Linked DNA regions of Homo sapiens: region 1 is linked to region 2. The links are contacts of gene promoters, found by promoter capture Hi-C in human tissues and cell types (Jung and others, 2019). All regions are on one chromosome and are shown on one strand. The core of a region is centred on a gene start or on the middle of the fragment in contact, and the rest is flanking DNA. Distances in the headings are between cores, read along the strand shown.

Region 1 (3,721 bases), core at 838-3,337, 330 kb before region 2:
TGGGAAGTAATTGAATCATGGGGGTAGGTCTTTCTCATGCTGTTCTTGTTGCAGTGAATAAGTCTCACAAGAGTTGATGGTTTTAAAAATGGGAGTTTCCCTGCACAAGCTCTCTTTTCTTGCCTGCTGCCTTGTGAGACGTGTCTTTCGCCTTCTGCCACGATTGTAAGGCCTCCCCAGCCAGGTGGAACTGTAACTCCATTAAACCTGTTTTTCTTTCCAGTCTCGGGTATGTCTTTATCAGCAATGTGAAAATGGACTAATACAAAATGTAAACCTCCACAGGCCAGAAGCAAAACAGGAAGAGAGGATAAAGTGAGCCTGCTGGGCTTGGGGTCCACAACCAAGAAGAACCAGGAGCCTGCCTCCTGCAGGATGGCACACTGTGGGCTTGGGGCAGGAGGGAGGCAAAAAGCTTCAAGTCAGAGGCTGGGATGGGATAAGCTCCATGACGGTGCCAGAAGGAAGTCAAATACTGTCACCCAAATGCAGCATGGGGCTGTAGATCTAAGGAGCTTTAAGATTAGGGATCCAAGCCATAGGCCTAGGATCAGCTCCATCCCCTCATTGTATGGGTGCTAGACATCTGATGGATCCCTGGGAAATCTCACTCTGGATTTCAAGCCTAGAGAATTGGGTGGAATCACCTGCAAATCCACTTATAGGGTGAATAGTAAGAGACGGGGGATGGGGGAGAAGGACAGGAACGAAGAAAACAGAGAAACGGTAAAGAACAAAAAAACCTTCCTCTGAATATGACCCTGCAACCCAAAATTCTAAAACATATGGACAAATCTAATGCTAAGTAATACAGCCAGCAGAACAAATAATCAAACATTAACTTACCTCAGTTGAGATTATTTTTATGAAACAATCTGAGACTTTAAAATAAGTGTGTTTTAGATATCTTAAGAGATACATGAAAGCACAATTCACTGATGTGTTCTAGAAAATAAAATTCATAAAAATTCTGGTTTTGTAAAACAGATCTAAAAATGCATCTTTAGGATTGTATCCATCTCCCAGTCAAATTCTTCTCTGAGAAGGAAAACACCAGCCACCCTTTCAAAGAGTTCCTGTCACAAACATTAAGCTGCATCAGAAAAGAAGACCAAAAAAGACACAGAGAGTAAGTGATGAGAGAGATGTAAGAATATAATGAAGGCGAAGAGGGGAATGAGATGTAATAGAAAATTGCAGGAAGGAAGGTCCAGAAGGAGTAGCCAAACGATTCAAATGAAAAAGAGAAACTTCCACATCTGGACAGGATGGAATAATAAACCAGTTTTACCCTTCCATATGAAAAACTAATAATAATAATAATAATAATAAAAAGACAAATATATAAAATCACACCACTCAAAACAGAGGACACCAGGTGACCAAGGACACAGACCCCCCAGAGGGGTGAGACCTAAGGAGAACATGGGAGAGCCCAAAAGTCTCCTTGATTTGAGGAGACAGAGCCGGGAGTCTGGACAAGTCAGGATAGCTAGAATTCTCAGGGCAGAGTAAAGGAGAGAAGAGAGCTGCGCGAAGAACTCTGGAGATCTGCAGAAGAACCCCTTCAGCATTCAACTGAACACTGATCATGTGTGTTGAAAAATCTACCTGAGGTCAGGGAACAAACCACACAAAAGGATTAGAGGGAATAAAGTTGGAGCTCACACAGGACCAGGAATAGTGCCAGTTCTCAACAGCCAAGGGGAAAACCTCATAATTCACGGGTTATCGGTTACAGAGCTAAGACAGGTCTCGCATAGGTAGTGGGCAAAACTATCCCCAGACGAAACTCTATACTGGTCCTGCCTAGTAAGGCTTAAAAAGAAGACCTAAATGGATCAAAGTGTTTCTAAGTAATCCCAGAATAAAGCTCGCGGATATTAGGAAGGTAAAAAATATCCAATGCATCAGAAGGTAAAATTAACAATGTTTGGCAATATCCTATAGTAAATTACCAGGCATGCAAAATAGAAACAAAATACATAATACAAAGTACAGAAGAATCAAAAGCAATTCACCAAGGAATGACAGATGTCAGAATTAGTAGGAAAAAATGTGTTAAAATATGTATTATATATTCGTTATGTTCAAAAAGCTAGAAGAAAGACTAAACACGTTAAGTAGAAACAGGGATGATATTAAAAAGATCCAAACTGAAGCAAATGAATGAGATGAAAAATACACAGGAAGGAGTTAACAGAAAATTAGACACTGTAGAAGAAATATTGGTAAACTTGAAGATAAAGCAATAGAAATTATCCAAAATGCAATATAGAAGGAAAAAAAAATCACTGAAAGAAAAATGAACAGAGCACCAGTAGTGGAAAAGTTTTAAGTGGCCACATACACATGCAAGTGGAGTACCTAAAGGAGGAGAGTAACAGAAAGTATCTGAAGAAATAATTGACCACAATTTTCCAGATTTCACGAAAAATATAAATCCAAGAAGCTCAACCAATTCCAAACATAAGAAATCTGAAGAAAACTGTATCTATGTACATCATAATCAAACTGCTTAAAACCAGTGACAAAGAAAACATTGCAAAACGACTCAGAGAGAAGAGACACATTATGTACAGAAAAACAAAGACAAAAGCAAAGTTAAGAGCAGATTTCTCACAGGAAACAGGGCAAGTGAGAAGAGATCTAGGAATATCACCTCTAAAAAACTAAAAGGGCCAGGGCACAGTGGCTCATACCTGTAATCCCAGCAGTCTGGGAGGCCGAGGAAGGAGAATCACTTGAGGCCAGGAGTTCAAGACCAGCCTGGGCAACATGGTGACACCCCATCTCTCTACAATTTTTTTTTTATTTTAAAAGTTAGCGGGGTGTGGTGGTGCACACCTGTAGTCCCAGCTCCTCAGGAGGCTGAAGTAAAAGGATCCTTTGAGCCCAGGACTTGGAGGCTGCAGTGGGCCATGATCACGCCATTGCACTCCAGCCTAAGTGACAGAGCAAGACCCTATCTCAAAAATAAATACACAGAGGTAAAAAAAACTATTAATCTAGAATTCTTTTCCCAGTGAAAATATCTCAAAAATAAAGGCAAAATAAAAGCTTTATGGACATACAAATGCAAAAGAATTCATCACTAGCAGAAGCAGACCTTCTGCTGTGCAGAAGGAAAATATCAGTTGGGAACCCAGATGAAGAGCACTGAAGATGGTAAGGACCTAGGAGATATAAAGACTTTTCTTACTATTTAAATATCTTTAAAAGCTGATCAACTATTCAAAGCAAAAACAATCATAACGTATTTAGGAGTTGATAGTATACATAAGAATTAAAATATGTGACGGCACAAAGGCCAAGATGGGAAACAGGGAAGTCTGCTGTTCTTACGCTATACAGAAGTGGGGTAACAGCACTCAAAGTGAAGTGAGACTGTGATAACTGTAAATCCTAAAGCAACTGCTACAATAACAAAACAAAAAGTTACCCCTCATAAGACAAAGGAAATAAAATGGAATAATAAAAAATACAATTAATCCAAACAAAGTAAGAGAACAAAGAAAAAAAATGTTACTCATAGAAAGCAAATAGCAAAATGATCATTTCAATCCAACAACATCAATAATAACATCAAATGTAAACAATCTAATTAAAATAACTTTGAAAAAAGAACAAAGTTACAAGAATTTAACCGATTTTAAGGCATTATAAAGCTACTGTGATAAAGACAGTGAAGTATTGTGTCAAGATAGACAAATAACAGATG
Region 2 (3,775 bases), core at 1,091-3,590:
ATCAAGTCACCACTCCCCACTGTGGCTCTGAGAGGAACAGAAAGCCACTTTCCCATCCCCCATCCCCTGCGCTGGCAGTCCAGCGACTAAAAGGGCCCAGCTTCTCTGACTGCTAATGGCCCGGCAAGTCTCCTAACAGTGTGCTCTGCCTACACAAAGGGCGCCGGGGCGTGCGTGCCCGGCTCTCGCAGATCACAGCCAGGGCCTGCCCGAGGACTGGCATTTCAATTCACCAAACGTCTTAATTCGGAGGGGGACGGAACACTTTCTACAGAACATTTTAAAGCACATGGGAAGTTTGGGCCCTTTCGCAGTAGAGAGGAAGGAACGAAGGGGAGGAATTTGTAGGCTGTTGTTTAAGGATTGTTAAAGTGCGCACATCATCAGCTGACAAAGATCGGCCGACTGCCAATGCCTCCCCAAACTCACGAAAGCCAAAATTCAGAGTACAGCGTAAAAGGGGGTGCGAGTGGCCTTTACTTTTATAAAGGACATTTGTACACAATGTCGCACAATAAACAACGTCAAGTCTGGGCACACATTACCCACATCTCAGTCAAAAGAAAAGGGTGGCCTGGCCCAGCCCCGAAGGGTTTTCTCTGAGAAATAGGTTGGGGTGTAAAGGTCCCACGCGTGCACCCACAGTCCGTGGCACCTTCCTCTGGTGCACCGTGGCAGGACGCTTTGTTCTTTCCCTAGGGGTCTCCAGCAAACTGCAAGGGCTACAATATGATATTTAGAGTTAAAAACCAATCCCAAGGCCTTAGAACCATGCCCGGGAGTTGGGAGCCTTTTTCTTGGAGGCAGCTGCTCCGGGCCTTGGAAGTTTCTTCCTATTCTGACGCAGGCTGGGAATTCTAGAGGCCTTGTAGGAAGGTCAAACGGACGAGAAGACTGAGGTCAGAGGCTTTCGGAGCATTGCCCGGGCTCTCTAAGCTCGCTCACTTGTCTGCGGGGGTGCGAGTCGACGGTTCAAAGTCTCCCTCCTTTCCCTCCACGCGCCCCTCACGCCAGACTCGCCACGCTCAGCAAAGCGTCCCAGCAAGTTCCTTGAGGCGGCAGCCCGAGCTCCACGTGCTAATCAACCCCGCCCCACGGCTCTTCGAAACTCTCCAGGCTCAGAGCGCGTCCGCAGGGCGCGCGTAGCGCAGCGTGTAGTTGGCGCCCGCGTTGTTGTCCCAGTACTCGCCCTGCGCGCAGCGGTAGCAGACAGCGAAGTGGACCGCGACGCCGCGCTCGTCGGCGTCCTCTTCGTCCTCAGGCTGCAGGCCCGGGGGCAGGCACAGCGAGAAGTGGAAGCACTCGGCGCCTGGCTCTTTCTTGGCATCCCCGGACCCTGGCTCGGAGGCCCCAGACGGTGCCTCTGGCTGCTGTGGCTCCAGCGGCTCGGGCTGCAGCTCAGCCGGCACGTCCAGGAAGGAGCGCCACTCGGTAAAGGTGTAGCGCACGGTCACGGCCCTGGGCCCAGGGCAGCTGAGCACCCGGCCGGAGCCCTTCACCTCAGCGCCCGAGGCCGTCGAGCACTGCACGCGCTCCAGGCACACGCGCTGCCGCTGCAGACGCTCGGCCGCGGCGCTCGGCCCCGGGAGCTGGAAGAGCGGCCGGAGCCGGGAAGGCGGCGCTGAAAGGGGCGCGGCCACTGCCGCCGCGGCCAGCAGCCCCCCGAGCTGCTCCAGGTCCTCGGCACGCATAGGGAAGCTTCGGAGGCGCGAGAGCACGGCGGGCGGCACCTGCGGCTCCTCCGCCTCGCTGAAGTGCTTCACGCTGGCCAGGCTTAGCCCCAGCGTGTCCGCGAACTGCACCCGCTTCTTGCACTTGGCGCAGCAGCCGCCCGGGCCGAGCTGTGCGTCCTCCGCCCCCTCGCCGCCCAGTGCCACCGCCTGTTGCTGCTGCTGCTGCAGGAACTTGGCCGCCTGCAAGATGGGGTCGGCGGGCAAGGAAAAGGAGCGCGCGCGGCAGCGGCGGCGGCATTCCAGCAGCTCCTCCTGCTCCTGGGGGGCGGCCTCTTCCTTCGGGGACAGGGGCCTATCCCCTAGCTGAGCGTCAGGACTCGGGGTCTCCGAAGCGCCACCGCCGTCGCCGCCACCCTGCACACAGGGGACCACCGGGGCGGGCAGCTCCTCGGCCGGCGGGGCCTCTCGGAAGGGCGCTGGTCCCGGCGCCTCCAAACTTAGCCGCGCCCCTATGGGCTCCATGACGCCGTTCGCCCCTGGACTTGCTCGGGCCGAACCGGGCCCCTCTGGAGACTTAACTAACTCCTCGGGCCGTGGAAGGAGCGCAGGGCTGCAGTTCAGGCTCGCCCTCCCCGAGGCGAGTCGCCCCAGGCTCGACAAGACAACGTAGTTCCACTTTGGAGCCTCCGGCTTTTAGCTGCGGCTGCCCAGGGCGAAGTGGGAGGAGGATGCGGGCCTGGGGCCGGCTCCGGGGCCACGCCGCCTCCCGGTTGAACCTGCCCGCGACGGGGGAGGGCCGGGGGCGGGGAGGCGCGGCCGCTGGGACACCTGGAAGCCGTGTTCCCGAGTGCTCCGGTGGAATGCGGGGGGCGACTTTCTGTCGTTCGCGGGCTCCCTGCAGCCCTCACCCGCACCCCCGGCGGGGCTCGCGTCTGTTCCGCTTCTTGAGTGCCTCGAAGTGGGGGTGCAGAGCTCGCGCTCAACCTTCAGAGACCCCCACGTGCACAAAGTCTTCCTGCCCATGAACTTGGCCTGACGGCTCTGCCCCCAGAGGGTCACTGAGCGCTCTCCTCTTGGCTGCCTCACGGGCTGGGGAGTCCCCGGTGCAGCGCGCAACTGGGGAAATCTTGCCTACGCAGAGGCTGGAAGGAGGCCCATTCCGCGCCGCCGGAGAGCGGGGAGCGCATCCCTTCCCTTCTGCTCCTGCTTTCCCCAAACTTCAGGGCGCCCCGGGTTCCAATCCCACTCGGAAGCCTGACTCGGTCAGGCGCGCTCCGCTCTGCTCTTCCGAAAGCCGGGAGGCAGGAGCCGCCGCCCCCATCTGCCCAGTGGCGGCGCGGGGTGGGCTGCGGCCAGACTGGGGCGGGGACCGTGTGGGGACGCGCCGGGGAGCGGCCATGGCCCGCAGCCGAGAGCGGCCGGAGGCCATTCGCGCCAGGCCCGGGAGCACGTCCCGCCCCTCCCCCTGTCCCGCCCGACGCGCCCGCGAGTCCGCGCCCCGGGATCCCGCAGGGAGGGCGGAGAGGGGGCCCCGTGGGGCCGGCGCCCACGCGGCACGCACCACCTCCCACCGCAACCGGACGCCAGCGCCCCAAGCACCCTCCCCGCCCACCGGGAGTGGGGGCGTGGCCCGCGCCGGACTGCGCTGTCACCGCCCTGCTGCTCCGGCCTTGCCAGGGGCCAAGGCCCGAACCTGAGGCCGGGGAGGGGTGGGGAAGCGCGTCGTGGTACCTAGGGATTGGGGGAACGTCTAAAAGTGGTGTTTTTCTTGTTTTGGTTTTAAGGCCACCCTGAGGGCCATCTAAGTCAGTGATTCTACTTCAGCATGCACGGACATCACTCGGGGGCCCGTTGTCACATCACAGGGCCCCACTCCCAGAGTTTCCTTCTTTCTAACTTTTTCGAGATAGGGGTCTTGCTATGCTGCCCAGGTTGGTCTCAAATTCCCGGCCTCAAGCAGTCCTCCCGCCTCAGCCTCTAAGGTAGCTGGGATTACAGGCGCCCCCCACTGCTCCCAGCTCCCTAGCGTTTGTGACTCAGTGGGCTTGGGCTGGGGCCTGGAAGTATTTCTAACAAGGGGATGCTGATGCTGGGCTCTGGGG

The links. Contacts are between HindIII fragments. The study calls those that stand out against the background at their distance.
Region 1: a fragment that was not itself captured here is called in contact with the fragment with the promoter of PPP1R3G in region 2 in 1 of the 25 tissues and cell types used here (lymphoblastoid cells).

Annotation. Positions count from the first base shown.
Region 1 is chr6:5,416,486-5,420,206 of GRCh38, reverse strand. The region is part of intron 3 of FARS2 (phenylalanyl-tRNA synthetase 2, mitochondrial); the gene reads right to left. Among named protein-coding and RNA genes, the nearest start is that of FARS2-AS1, 40 kb to the left of the region's middle. The HindIII fragment of the contact is 4,384 bases long and covers 1-3,721 here.
Region 2 is chr6:5,083,906-5,087,680 of GRCh38, reverse strand. PPP1R3G (protein phosphatase 1 regulatory subunit 3G) reads right to left here and starts at 2,340. Exons shown (of 1, transcript NM_001145115.3): 1 at 1-2,340. The coding sequence starts at 2,195. The coding sequence ends at 1,119. All of the region lies in intron 3 of LYRM4-AS1 (LYRM4 antisense RNA 1), which reads right to left. It also overlaps a transcript of LYRM4 not described here. RefSeq lists silencers at 1,589-1,818, 1,849-1,898, 2,039-2,138, 2,389-2,568, 2,979-3,258 and 1 more and an enhancer at 1,369-2,058. The HindIII fragment of the contact is 9,723 bases long and covers 309-3,775 here.